Linked DNA regions of Homo sapiens: regions 1 and 2 are each linked to region 3. Evidence: promoter capture Hi-C in 16 types of primary human blood cells and fetal thymus (Javierre and others, 2016). All regions are on one chromosome and are shown on one strand. The core of a region is centred on a gene start or on the middle of the fragment in contact, and the rest is flanking DNA. Distances in the headings are between cores, read along the strand shown. Region 1 overlaps LOC105375911 (a long non-coding RNA gene). Region 2 overlaps MITA1 (metabolism induced tumor activator 1). Region 3 holds the start of ZC2HC1A (zinc finger C2HC-type containing 1A).

The links. Contacts are between HindIII fragments. The CHiCAGO score rates a contact against its expected background, and 5 or more counts as called.
Region 1: a fragment that was not itself captured here is called in contact with the fragment with the promoter of ZC2HC1A in region 3 in 3 of 17 cell types (activated CD4 T cells, non-activated CD4 T cells and fetal thymus); the score reaches 7.2 in activated CD4 T cells.
Region 2: a fragment that was not itself captured here is called in contact with the fragment with the promoter of ZC2HC1A in region 3 in 2 of 17 cell types (total B cells and naive B cells); the score reaches 5.9 in total B cells.

Annotation. Positions count from the first base shown.
Region 1 is chr8:78,474,690-78,478,941 of GRCh38, reverse strand. The region is part of intron 2 of LOC105375911 (a long non-coding RNA gene); the gene reads left to right. Among named protein-coding and RNA genes, the nearest start is that of PKIA, 40 kb to the left of the region's middle. The HindIII fragment of the contact is 1,246 bases long and covers 1,630-2,875 here.
Region 2 is chr8:78,842,602-78,846,601 of GRCh38, reverse strand. The region is part of intron 1 of MITA1 (metabolism induced tumor activator 1); the gene reads right to left. Among named protein-coding and RNA genes, the nearest start is that of LINC02605, 7.1 kb to the right of the region's middle. The HindIII fragment of the contact is 1,351 bases long and covers 666-2,016 here.
Region 3 is chr8:78,664,366-78,668,043 of GRCh38, reverse strand. It overlaps ZC2HC1A (zinc finger C2HC-type containing 1A), which reads right to left and starts at 1,955. Exons shown (of 9, transcript NM_016010.3): 1 at 1,880-1,955. The coding sequence starts at 1,895. It overlaps LOC105375911 (a long non-coding RNA gene), which reads left to right and starts at 2,065. Exons shown (of 4, transcript XR_007060972.1): 1 at 2,065-3,039. RefSeq lists enhancers at 1,802-1,851, 1,816-2,323, 2,324-2,832 and a silencer at 1,922-2,141. The HindIII fragment of the contact is 1,596 bases long and covers 945-2,540 here.

The DNA.
Region 1 (4,252 bases), core at 1,003-3,502, 190 kb after region 3:
AGTCTTTAATCTATTTTCATTTGATTTTTGTATTTGGCAAGAGACAGGGGTCTAGTTTTATTCTTTTGCATATGGATATCTAGTTTTCTCAGCACCATTTATTGAAGAGACTCTCCTGGATGAGAGATTTTGATAATCTATGTAGATAACACCAATCTTTTGCCTGTCAATTCTTGATTTGCTTTTTTATATAAATCATGAAATATTACAGCCTGCTTCCCATCCATCTTATACCTGGAGATAAAGTGTTTTATTACTCTCCACCAAAGACTTCAGGAAAAAGTACCACTCTGGCTTTGCTTCCTGTTGTGGTGTATTATATTCACATTGTCTCTGATAATTACATGTCACCATAAGGTCTCTAATCAATACCTCTATCATCCTCTTTCATATGAAGGACCCAGAAACATTTCAGCATTGTCTACTGCCAGCTCTATCATGAAAAGACAACCTGTACTGAGTTTCTCAATTACCCCTGTGCCCCTTTTTGTCTTAATGAAAAGAACACACCTGGGGATGCCCTGGTGATTATAGTTGTGTGGAAGATTTTCTGTTCTCATGTACTATATTTATTTTAACTTCTCCCTCATCTTAAGCCTTCCAACACCTCCCTCAGTTATCTGCCAAGCCAGTTCTACCATATCATATCATTTGTTCTACCATATTATATCATTTGTTCTACCATATCATATCATATCATTTGAATTACATGTTCAAACTTTAAGAAGCCATTTCTGCATTGTATTAGGATCCACTTCAGGGTAAGTTAAGATTTTACCCATACATATAAGCTTTTTATATGCCAAATCGCATAAAAAAGTAAAAAGTAAAGTACTTTTTTTCTTAGTGGGGACATTATTTCTCTAGGTGTTTATTCCTGTGTATTGCCTGGAAGCCCTGAATAGTTCAGGTGATTTAAGAAAAGGACAAAATTATATATTGACTAGGAAAAAGGAGGCTGTTTTCCCCTAGCAAGTGGAAAAGTATCTCAGAAAGTTAAAATCTTGTGGCACAGGATTCTTAGATATATCTGCCAAGTTTATTACCATATTAAGCCTCTTGGTCCTACTTTCTGTCAGGATTCTGATTTTATTACAGGGAAACTTTTGCGACTATATTATTTATTTCTGTTATTTAAGCCAAGATTTAGTGGTTTGCGTAATCTGAAAAGTGCTTCGTCATGGATATCAATGCATATGAGTGTTGTTGACTTGAACATTTACCTTAATCATTGCACATCAAATTCAACTAAAATATTTTTATAAAATACTCATATCCAGACTCTACCTACAGATATTTTAAATCAATTGTTGAAGAGTAAGGCCTGAACATGGGCATTTTTTGAAAGATTCTTAGAGATTCTGATGTGCAACCAAGATCATGAAGTTCTAATCTACTTTATGAAATTAATATGCTACTAGCATTCTGAAGAAGCATATCTGAATATGTAAAGAAATAACATAAACTTAAAGAAAATACATTGGGGTAGGCAAGTCCTTAAACATATAAACCATTGCCTTGAATTTAAAAATGTTTTTTCAAAACATTTTTAGCAAATATCCTTTTCCATCTCTTCTTTTTAGATTGGCAATCATAAGGATAATTTGCTTCTGGATCAACATGGAAGCTTTAAACATATAAATAAAGCAGGGATATTCTAATATTGGTATTATATGTTGTTTCTAATTAAGTATTGTTTCAAATGGCAAGAATTATTAGGAGGAACTATTGGATGGAGAACACTTTAAATTGATAAGGATTGACACTGATAACTTTTGATGTTTAAGATCATGGAAAATGGAAGAAAAACTCAAATCCCTCTTGCTACTACATTATTTGTTTGCTTAAAACTAAAAATGTGTTGTGATTAAGTCCTTTTGGGCAGTTTTTAAAGACAAGTTGGTATTTTTAGGGGATGATAATGTGAATTGCTAAAGTATGCCAGTCATAACGGTTCTTTCTTTGATGATATAAATACTTAGTATTTTTATTTCTTTGACAGCTTGTTGCATATGTAAAAGGGATGGAACTATACATTTCACTATATACTGGGTATTTTACATATTTATTTAATATTTATATCAGATCTGTGAGGTAATTTATGCTCTTTTCCATATTAGTTTCCCAATATAAAATCATGCTAACAATATCATTTGCCTCATAGGATTATTCAGATAATTAAATAATTTAATACTTATAGAGTCATTGAAAAAACTATTAGTGAATGCTATATAGTAAAAAACTATAGTAAATGCTCAAAAATTATCATGATGGTTGTGATTATTATAATTATGAAGTTAGTATTGATAGTCTCCATTCACAGATAACAGAGTCTCTGAGTATAAGTCAGCCAAAGTCACATATGTCTGAAATAGTAGAACAAGATTTAAACCCAGGCCCAGCTAATCCAAAGTCTTTGTTTTTTCCAATTATTATAGACTGAATGTTTGTGTCCCTTCAAAATTTGTATGTTGAAACCCTAATCCCCAATGTAATGGTATTTGGAGATGGGCCCTTTGGAAAGTAATTAGGATTAAACAAGATCACGAAGGTCAGGCTTTTATGATGGTGTTAGTGCCCTTATGAAAATAAACCAGGAAAGGCCATTTGAGCACATAGAAAGAAGCTGGCCATCTGCAAGCCAGGAAGAGAATCTGCAAGCCAGAATCTAACTAAGTTGGGCACACTGATCTTGCACTTCCAACCTCCAGATCCTGAGAAGATAAATTTCTGTTGTTTAAGTCACTCAACCTATGGAATTTTGTTATGGCAGCCAAATCAGACAAATATACCCATACTCCAGAACGCCCTTTCATTTCATTAATTGAGCTGGTTATCAGGTAACCCAGTGAAGCCTTGAAAGATGAACAAAGCTTTGGCAAGTAGATGAGGTTTTGTTTGCGGGTACAGGGTAGGATAATAAGGGCAGAGGAAATATGTGTAGAAGATAGATATTGGAGTCATGATTATTCTAGCATGCATGGAGGACTTCCAGTAGCTAGAGTATTCCAAAAAAAAAAAAAAACATTTCTCTTAATTTAATTTAATAAATAACTATTCTCTACTATATGCCTGCTATTCTTGCATTTGCCATACAGAATATAGAAAAATTGAATATCTTCCTTTTCTCTAATAAATTTGTATAATTATATAGCAATATGAATAAAATAAGTGCTACACAAATTTATAAAACAGAATTATGCATCATGGTTAAAATAGGATAATAAAATTTAAGAGGCAATACTTAAGCTGAGCCTTGAAGGAGGGAAAAATGACATATTAATAGTAATTAAATAGAGAGAAATGGTTTCTTTGGTTAAAAGTAAATAGAGACCGTGAAGTTTTACTTAGAAAAAAAGTACTTTTGTTCTGCTAAAGCTGTCTTTAAGAAGCCATATTAAATGAAATAGATTCTTGTTAATCTGTCCCTTGGAAAGGAAAGTTAGAAGAAATGGCTGACTTACTTTTAAGATGTAGAGAGTGTCCAGAGGTGACCTATACCTGGTATGACCTTTAGATTCCAGATTATGCTGTCATTAAAGTGGGAACAGCAGTTAGAGCCATCTGTTTAGTGACATTAAGGGCTAAACCTAATGAGCATTTATTTTGTATTTTTTCATTAACTTCAAATATAGTGATAGGCATTGTTCTTTATATATATATAATGTATATATATTATCTATATATAAGTATATATATTAAATGAAGTATGACTTCTAGGTGTTAAGATGTCTGATGAAAATAATTTCATTTAAAATTTATCATCACCGTATTTATAATTTGTTCCTAATATTATAGTGATGATAGTATGTGCTTTGCTAAACAGACATTTTTCTCAGTTCTGTTATGCATTATTTAGGTTAAAAAGAAGGCATGAATTTTGGTCTAGACAACCATATTGAATATTTTATTCATTTTTTGTTTCCTCAATTTTCAGATTTTGAAACTGAAAATTCAAAATTGATCAGAGTTCTATTTCAAAAATATACATAGGTGTGTAGTTATAGTTAAACAATCCTAAAATTCATGTTGTACATAATACTTTGAATTTTGAAAAAGAAAATGAGAAAGATAATAAAATATATTAGGCTCTAAGGAAATAGTGATGTTCCTAAATGTATAGTTATTCATTCCAACTTTATGTTATTCCTTTTTAGCCTAACCAGTTTCAAGTGATACTTTTCATTTCATGGGTTTCCAGTGTTATTTCTTTTTTAGTTAACTTTAAAAAATGACTTTTTTTTTTTTTTGA
Region 2 (4,000 bases), core at 92-2,591, 180 kb before region 3:
CTGTAGTGTCAAGGTAATTATAAAGCTGTACAATAATATAAGCTATCATATACAGATAATTCTCCATTTTTCAAGTTCCCAGGAAAGTTATTAACTCTGTGTAAAGTATTCAACCCTGTTCATATAAGTTTAAAAATCTGTTTGAAAGACATTTTTTTGTGGAAAAATATAAGTGGACCAAAATAAATCAATAATAAAAGAAAACTGACAGAGCTATTATAGAACAACAAAATGTTGTAGAAGAATTCTTTCAGATTTCAGGGAAGAGTTTACTTCTATGAGCTCAGAGGAAGAAGGAAGGCTTCACATGATTTTATACAAAATTCATGTAACCCCGAAGCAAAACTCAACCAAAACAACCTACAAATAATAAAACCCCAGACCCATTTCAACATAAATTTAACAGCAAAAATTAGTAATAAGATGTTAATATTTGTAATCCATTGCTGTACTGAAATTCTATTAATGACCAACTGATGTTCATTGCAGAACATAAAAATGGTTTAATGCTAAAAGATTTGTTAATATAATTTCTCCCACAAATAGACTGAGGAAAAGAATCTGTAGTCACCATATGTTCTAAAAAGTCATCAAATGCCTATTCAACTTTTTTTAAAACTTCTTAATAAAGACCTTTAGCATATTTTTTAAAGAAAAAAAAAGCTTAAACTAACAGCCAGAAATTTTCTCTCTCACCATTACTAATAATATTCTTCTAGGAAAGCTAGCCAAAGGAATCACTGAAAAATGTTTTCTAAGAATATTAAGTATAAACAATCAAAAGGAGGCATTATATGATAAAGACTCAAAATTTGTTAAATTTTATTTGTAGACAAAATAGTTTGCTACATAAAGAAAACAAGAATATTGACTAAAAGTAACTTAGAGAGTTCAGCAAAGACAATCAGTTGAGAAATTAGTATTTTTAAAGGTAGCTTTTCTATAATAAGGAAACAACTAGTTAAAATAAAACAAAGATATTTCATTCACAATAGCAACTGTTATATGGTAGCCTTACAAACATCAAACATTACTAGGGAGACATAGGACTGGATGTGCTTTCTTCCTTCACTTTCTTATTGTTTAGATTTCTGTATTTTTTTAAAGTGTTAATTTTATTAACAAAAACAAAACATATTAATTATCAAAAACTAAAGACCTATTTTCTTTAAAAACTAAAAAACTAAATACATTAAGATAAACATCAAGATATTTTATCATTATATTTTAATAGATAAGACAATTTAATAAAGATTAACTTCATAGAATTACTTTTTAGTGCTAAAAGAGTCTTTAGAAGACATCTAACTCAAGCCTGCATTTTCAAATAAGAAGTTCAGGGCTTTACTGGTTACAGGATTTGTTTAAGGTTTCTAGTCAATGGCAAAACCATGTTTAAAACTCAGGACTTCTGACTTTGAGTCCACAGTTTCTTTATTTTTTCCTGACTTCTCTTACCCGTTCTACTCCTCATTATACTTACAAGAGTAATTCTTAGCTATTCATGATCTTTGTTCAATTTGACTTAGATTTTAGAGTATTAATGAAACACTCATTCAACTCACACTAATACGTTGAACTTGGAATCAAGATCGGTCAGTGGCTGTTTAGGGATTCGGTGGAGCTTGGCACTGCAAATTCTTGCATTTAGCTTCGCTCATCTGGTACTGACTATTCCGCTACAGCCATAAGGCATTTATTTTCTGCTAAGTTGATATAAGTAAAAATGGGAAAATGCTCCACTTTCTGGGGGCTCCTCTAGCCCTCACTTTCTTTCCTGTTCACCAAAGAACAGAAATATGTAAAGAAGACATTTCCTACACATTCACAAAAGTATATATCCTTCTTGCCCATTCATTAAATATCCAGAATAAAAGGTCTTTATGGCCAGATGCTATCTATTGCTTATTTTAAAATGGTTACATTAACTTATAATCATGTTTCCATAATTCCAATCCACAAACTTGATTCAGAGATAACAGTTCCTTCTTTTAAATCTAGTTATATATCCAAGCTTAGCCAATCATAACCTCCATGGACAGCATTAATTTTTAATATAATAACTAATAACAGTAAGTTACAAAGTGTGAACAACTGGAGACAAGGATGGTATATAAATCACAGGAGTGCAAGCAGCTCAGTTTAGGCAGGGAAAGAGACAGAGGTTCTGGCTGAACTCCTTGGGAAGCAGAGGCAGAAGAGGAGAGAGACTAAGAGCAGAACTCTACTAATTTTTGACCAGCCTGGAAGTACTGAACTACCCTGAGCAACAATGGTCAGAAGGACACCCGTCATGCAGCCCCACCTCTACATTACTTGCATGTGCTGATTATCTAATCCATTCTCTGGATGACTATTTTCATAAATGTCTTTCTCCCTCCTCATGCTCAACACCTCTTCTATTGTCACTCTCACCCAATGGCTCTGCTTTCTACTTTGTTCAAAAAAATATATATAAATAAACTGAAGCAACAGAAGACACTCTAACAAGCTCTCATCATTATATTTGCACCTAGTAACTACCTTCACTCTGTTTTCCTTTGTTATAGATAAACTGCCTGCATTCTTACCCAAGGGCAACTCCTCAATTATTCACTATGTTGCCTTAGGTTACGGTTAACCTATTCAAGGAACCAGCTCCCCAAATCTCTCTTCTTTCTCCTGCAACATCAATTTCCCCATCTCTATATGTTATCATTTCCATCAGCATACAAGTGTACTGTTACTTCTACCATATGAAACACTTTTTTCTTTCTTTCTTTCTTTCTTTCTTTCTTTTTTTTTTTTGAGGTGGAGTTTCACTGTTTTTGCCCAGGCTGTAGTGCAATGACACGAACTTGGCTCACTGCAACCTCCATCTCCCAGGTTCAAGTGATTCTCTTGCCTCGGGCTCCCGAGTAGCTGGGATTACAGGTGCACGCCACCAGGCCCAGCTAATTTTGTATTTTTAGTAGAGATGGGGTTTCACCATGTTGGCCAGGCTCATCTCGAACTCCTGACCTCTGGTGATCCGCCCTCCTTGGCCTCCCAAAGTGCTAGGATCACAGGCGTGAGCCACCTTGCCCAGCTGAAACTAATTTTTTAAATGAAACACATTCATTTCTCTGCTCCTTGTACCTTCATATCCTCCCTTTCTCCTACTCCTGTCACTCTGCTGAACCATGGCTAGATCAAAGTCTTCAGTGACCTCCATATTGCTAAACCACTGGCAGGTTCTTAGCTTTCACCTTATTTGATTACCTAGAAACATTTAAAATGGCTCATTACTTGGCTTTCAAGACAAGCTCCTTATTTTCTTCCTCTCCTACTGGTTATTTCTATTCAGTTTCCGGTGTAAGCCCTTCCTCTTCTCCTAGACCTTTTAATGCCCAAGTGCGCCACAGCTCGGTCCTTTAGCTTCTCCTCTAATTACTTTCACTGCATTGGTCATTTTATCCTGACTCATAGTTTTCAACATCACCCAGTCACAGACAACCTTCAAATTTCTATCTGTAGCTCACAATTCTCCTCTGAATGCCACATCCATATACCTGAAGGTCTAAAATGACACCTACACGTTGGATGAACATATCCAAACAAACATTTTCTTCTCTCCCAAATGCCGCTCCCCTTTCTCATCTCCGTTAATAAAATTATCATCACTCAGGTGCTGACATATAAAACCTTGGACTAATCCTTGACTCCCCCTTGTTCTTCACACCCTACATCCAATCTAATAACAAATTCTGGTTACCCTACCTTCAAATAATCATAGGATCTGGCCTCTTCCTAATATCCTCACTGTTACTACCCTGGAATAAGCACTAACTTCTATTACCTGGATTATCACACCATTTTCCAGACTGGTTTTCCTGCTTTCACCATTTACACACTCCAGCTTGTTCTCAGCAACGCAACCAGAGTGATCAGTTTAAAGTGTAATATCGTGTCACTCTTCTGCTTAAACCAGTGCCATAAATACCTACCCCCTCAAATTCTTACAATTGCCGACAAAGTCCTA
Region 3 (3,678 bases), core at 706-3,205:
GCAACTTCACATATTTCAACTCAGTTTATCACAATTAAACACATTATAGTTAATGATAGCATCTTATTTTGTAAAAAAAAAAAATCTAAAAGTAAAGGGCAAGCACTATTAACATCATAAGCTGGGCCCTATAACATCATAAGCTGGACCCATAAAATATGCCTATAAATACAGAATCCTACCTTTGTCCACCTATGCAACTGAGTGTCATAATAGGTTTCCATTATATTTTAAAAACATTCGTAGTAAGGTTTCAATAGTAATATCTTAGCACTGTTAAAATGTAAGGTCCACTAAAATGTAGGTTCGATGAGAGTAAAGCTTTATCATTTTTATTCTTTGCTGCAACCTAGAACCTAAAAAGATGCCCATAATAGACATTTATTTAACAACAAATATTTATTGAGTACCTACTTTGTGTCAGACATTGTTTTAGGTGCCTAGGATACATAAGTGAAAAATCAGATGATGATCTTTGTCTTAATAACAAATGTTGAATAAAATAATAAAAATCTGCAAACTGTTCAAAACACTTTATAGATAATATGTAATAAAACCTTATCATATTATATATGATAATCTCATGAGAATTCCATAACCCATGCTTTAATCCCACCAAGATACAAAAGTATCTTGAAAGTAAAATATACTGTACTATCATTACAATTCCTTATTTCATGGAAACTTGAATTATCTTCCAAAAACACATAAGCAAAAAACAAGACCTTCATTAGGCCATAGCATACTGCAGCTGTCCACAAACGGAAAATTATCAGAATCATTTATCAGAGCAAAAGCACGAAATAAACTTCTACTCATGTTATTACATCTGCTTTTTGGTGAATAGGTGACTGAAAAAGTTACCGGCTACCACTTTGCACTTCATCACACAATGTAGAATATTTTACTCCCTGGCATGCAACAATACACAAGACTCAAAAGCTTCTGCTCATTCTTAATTCCAACTGAATCCGTGTAAACTAGGAGACGGGGGAAAGGAGCTAAATCAAGACAATAGGATCTTTCAATTCTGAAGGTTTGTTCTTCATCATAACAAATTAAAAAATCTTGAAACTGTTGTTGCCAATGCTAGTTATTGTGGTTTTTGTCCTTCCTTTGTTTTTAGGTGAATGCTTTCATTACACAGGATAAAATGGGTAAACAGAATAGAGAAAAAGTGAAAGAACTGGGAACAAAGCAAAATCTGGAGTCATGGTTACAGTACAAAGATAAACCCAAAGATAAGGAACCAATACAGGCTCTTCCTCACACAGCGGCCGTGAATAAGTCATCAAATCCTCCGGGTAATCTATTGTACCGGCTCTAAAGCTGGCCAGTGACACTTCCTTAGGAGATGCTCTGACATCCCTCCGACAGAAGATGCTGTCGAAATGTAAAAAGCCGGTTACCTAGGGAAATCGGCCAAGGAATGTCAGGAGCTCGAGGCTGGAGACACACCCCGGGGCTGCAGCACAAAGTGGCCTGTTGGTGTTAAGGCCGTGGACAATAATGGAGAGAGTCCAGTACAAGGAAAACAAAATCTGGCCAGAGACTGGGATCACTAAAAGGGCACTCAGGAGTCAAGCAAGATCAGAAAATGGTAGGAAGAGACGTGCAGGCGTCTTGCCAGGGGCAGGATCTGGCTCCGGGCGGGAAAGCCCAGTTGAAGACCGTCTGAGGCGGGGCAGCCTGGTAGCGTTAGCTCCACCGCATCGGGGACTGTCCGGTTCCCTTCGGCCCCAGCCTCCGGAGGCGCGGCGGGACGCGGCGAGGTCCGCCGCACCGAACCAGCCCTCGCCTTCCTGCTACTGGTGTCCAGGGTCCCCAGCTGTTTCGGGCCCGCTCTAGCCGTCCTGCCCTCATCCCTTCATCGCCTCACCTTCCAGTCCCTCCATCGCGCCACCTCCTCGAGCTCAGCGAGACTCCTTCAGCAGCGCCCGCCACCGCCCAGCTCTGGCTGTAGCAACCCAGCCGCACCTCCCACCCGCTAACATTCCGAGCTCCCATTGGTTCCGCAACTGCGGGGGCGGGGATCCGTGGGGGCGGGGCCGCGGCGGAGGCGAGGTTCCTGCGGTCTCCTCCTGGCTGCCACCCCTGTCCGTCTCTCCGGGTTACTCTCCAGGGAGCCGGGAGCCGCTTCAGGTTGCAATCTGCGATGCAACGGCGCCTTTGTTTGACTCCAGCCTTGTTTTGCCTCATACCTTATCCTCCTATTTAGAGTACCTCAGCACCTCATGGGCTCCGCTTCACCAGTTCCTCAATCAGTCAATGCCTCTGACTTCTAGCCGCCATCCCTCCCAGTGGATACTTTAAGCAGGCAAGCAAACCAAACAAACGCCCAGCACGCTTGCATGCAGCAATCTCCGTTTTCCGGTCTTTGGTCGCATGACTTGACCTCAGCGTATCCCCTACACTTGATCTTCACACACAGCTTCATAGGTTAAGACACTTTTTTTCCAGAGAAATCATACTTTCTATCTGCGATTGTGGAACTGCGATTGCTCTAAGCCCTTGAAAACAGTTTCCTCACCATGAAAGCTTGGGCCAAAAATTAGAAGTGAAACCCAGCCCTCCCTCTGTCTTCTACTCTTGGCCTACCTTGGCCCTATACTTTATCATCCATAAACCAAAACAGTCGCCTGGCCTGACAATGTTTGATCGGGGAAGTTTGAGTTGGGGAATTAACCTACAACCTGACAGAATGAGGCCCGCCCGTCTCTAACAGAGTTCAAAACCTCCTGAAGATGAAAGTAACTTCAAAACTAACTCAGACCATTTTAACGGTTTTGCTTACAATTACCAGAACTACATTTCTTTGAAAATTTGATTTAGCAATCGTAAACAAGCTGTACTGTTTGCTGACTATAGCGTATCTACTGGCAAGTTACCAGTATTAATGTGTTGTCCATAACAAACCTCGGATTAATGTTATTGTTAATCTGTTTAATTGAAGAGTTTAACTTCATATCTAACTTCATCTACTATGAAATCAGTTACCTTCAGGAAGCAGGATTCCTCCTACTCTCCACTCACATGAAGGTATGTTTAAACAAGCAAACACTTGAGGGGGCATCATCTCTTACTGAGAAGGTGCTCCAAGTGCATTTGAATGTGGTAGAGTCCATCTGTTGTGTGGAGCCATGTAAAGACCACTTCAACCATGCCTCAATGACTCCCTCCGCCCTTCCCTGGTTCCCCTGGCTCTTCTGCTTCTCTGAGATCCTGGGCCTCCTTGGCCAACCCATAGCCTTGCAGGCAATAAGCTACTCTAGACTGGGTGCTGCGGAAAGGTCCTTTTTCTTCCTTAGTGCTACTAAGGCAAAGGTAGAATTTTTGGTTGGGAGGGAAGGCCTTTTAAAAGAGCATTAAGGAGAAAAAAAAGCACACAGAAGAAAATACAAAAATAAGGAAGCCATTATTTTACAAATTACAAGTTCTTTCACTGAAGGCAAGACGAATATTGAGTTGGCTGATACCTTATTCGACATAAAATCTACAGTAACATTAAAAATAATAAAAATAGCATTAAAGAATAAATCATGTGAGGCATGTTTTAGGCCATTTTCATATATTCACAAATCTTCAAAAGAAATCTACAAAGTAGATACTACAATCTTCATTTATCAGAATTAAAATGTTCATTTTCTAGATGTCTCAGAGCAATTAATATTTTGTCAA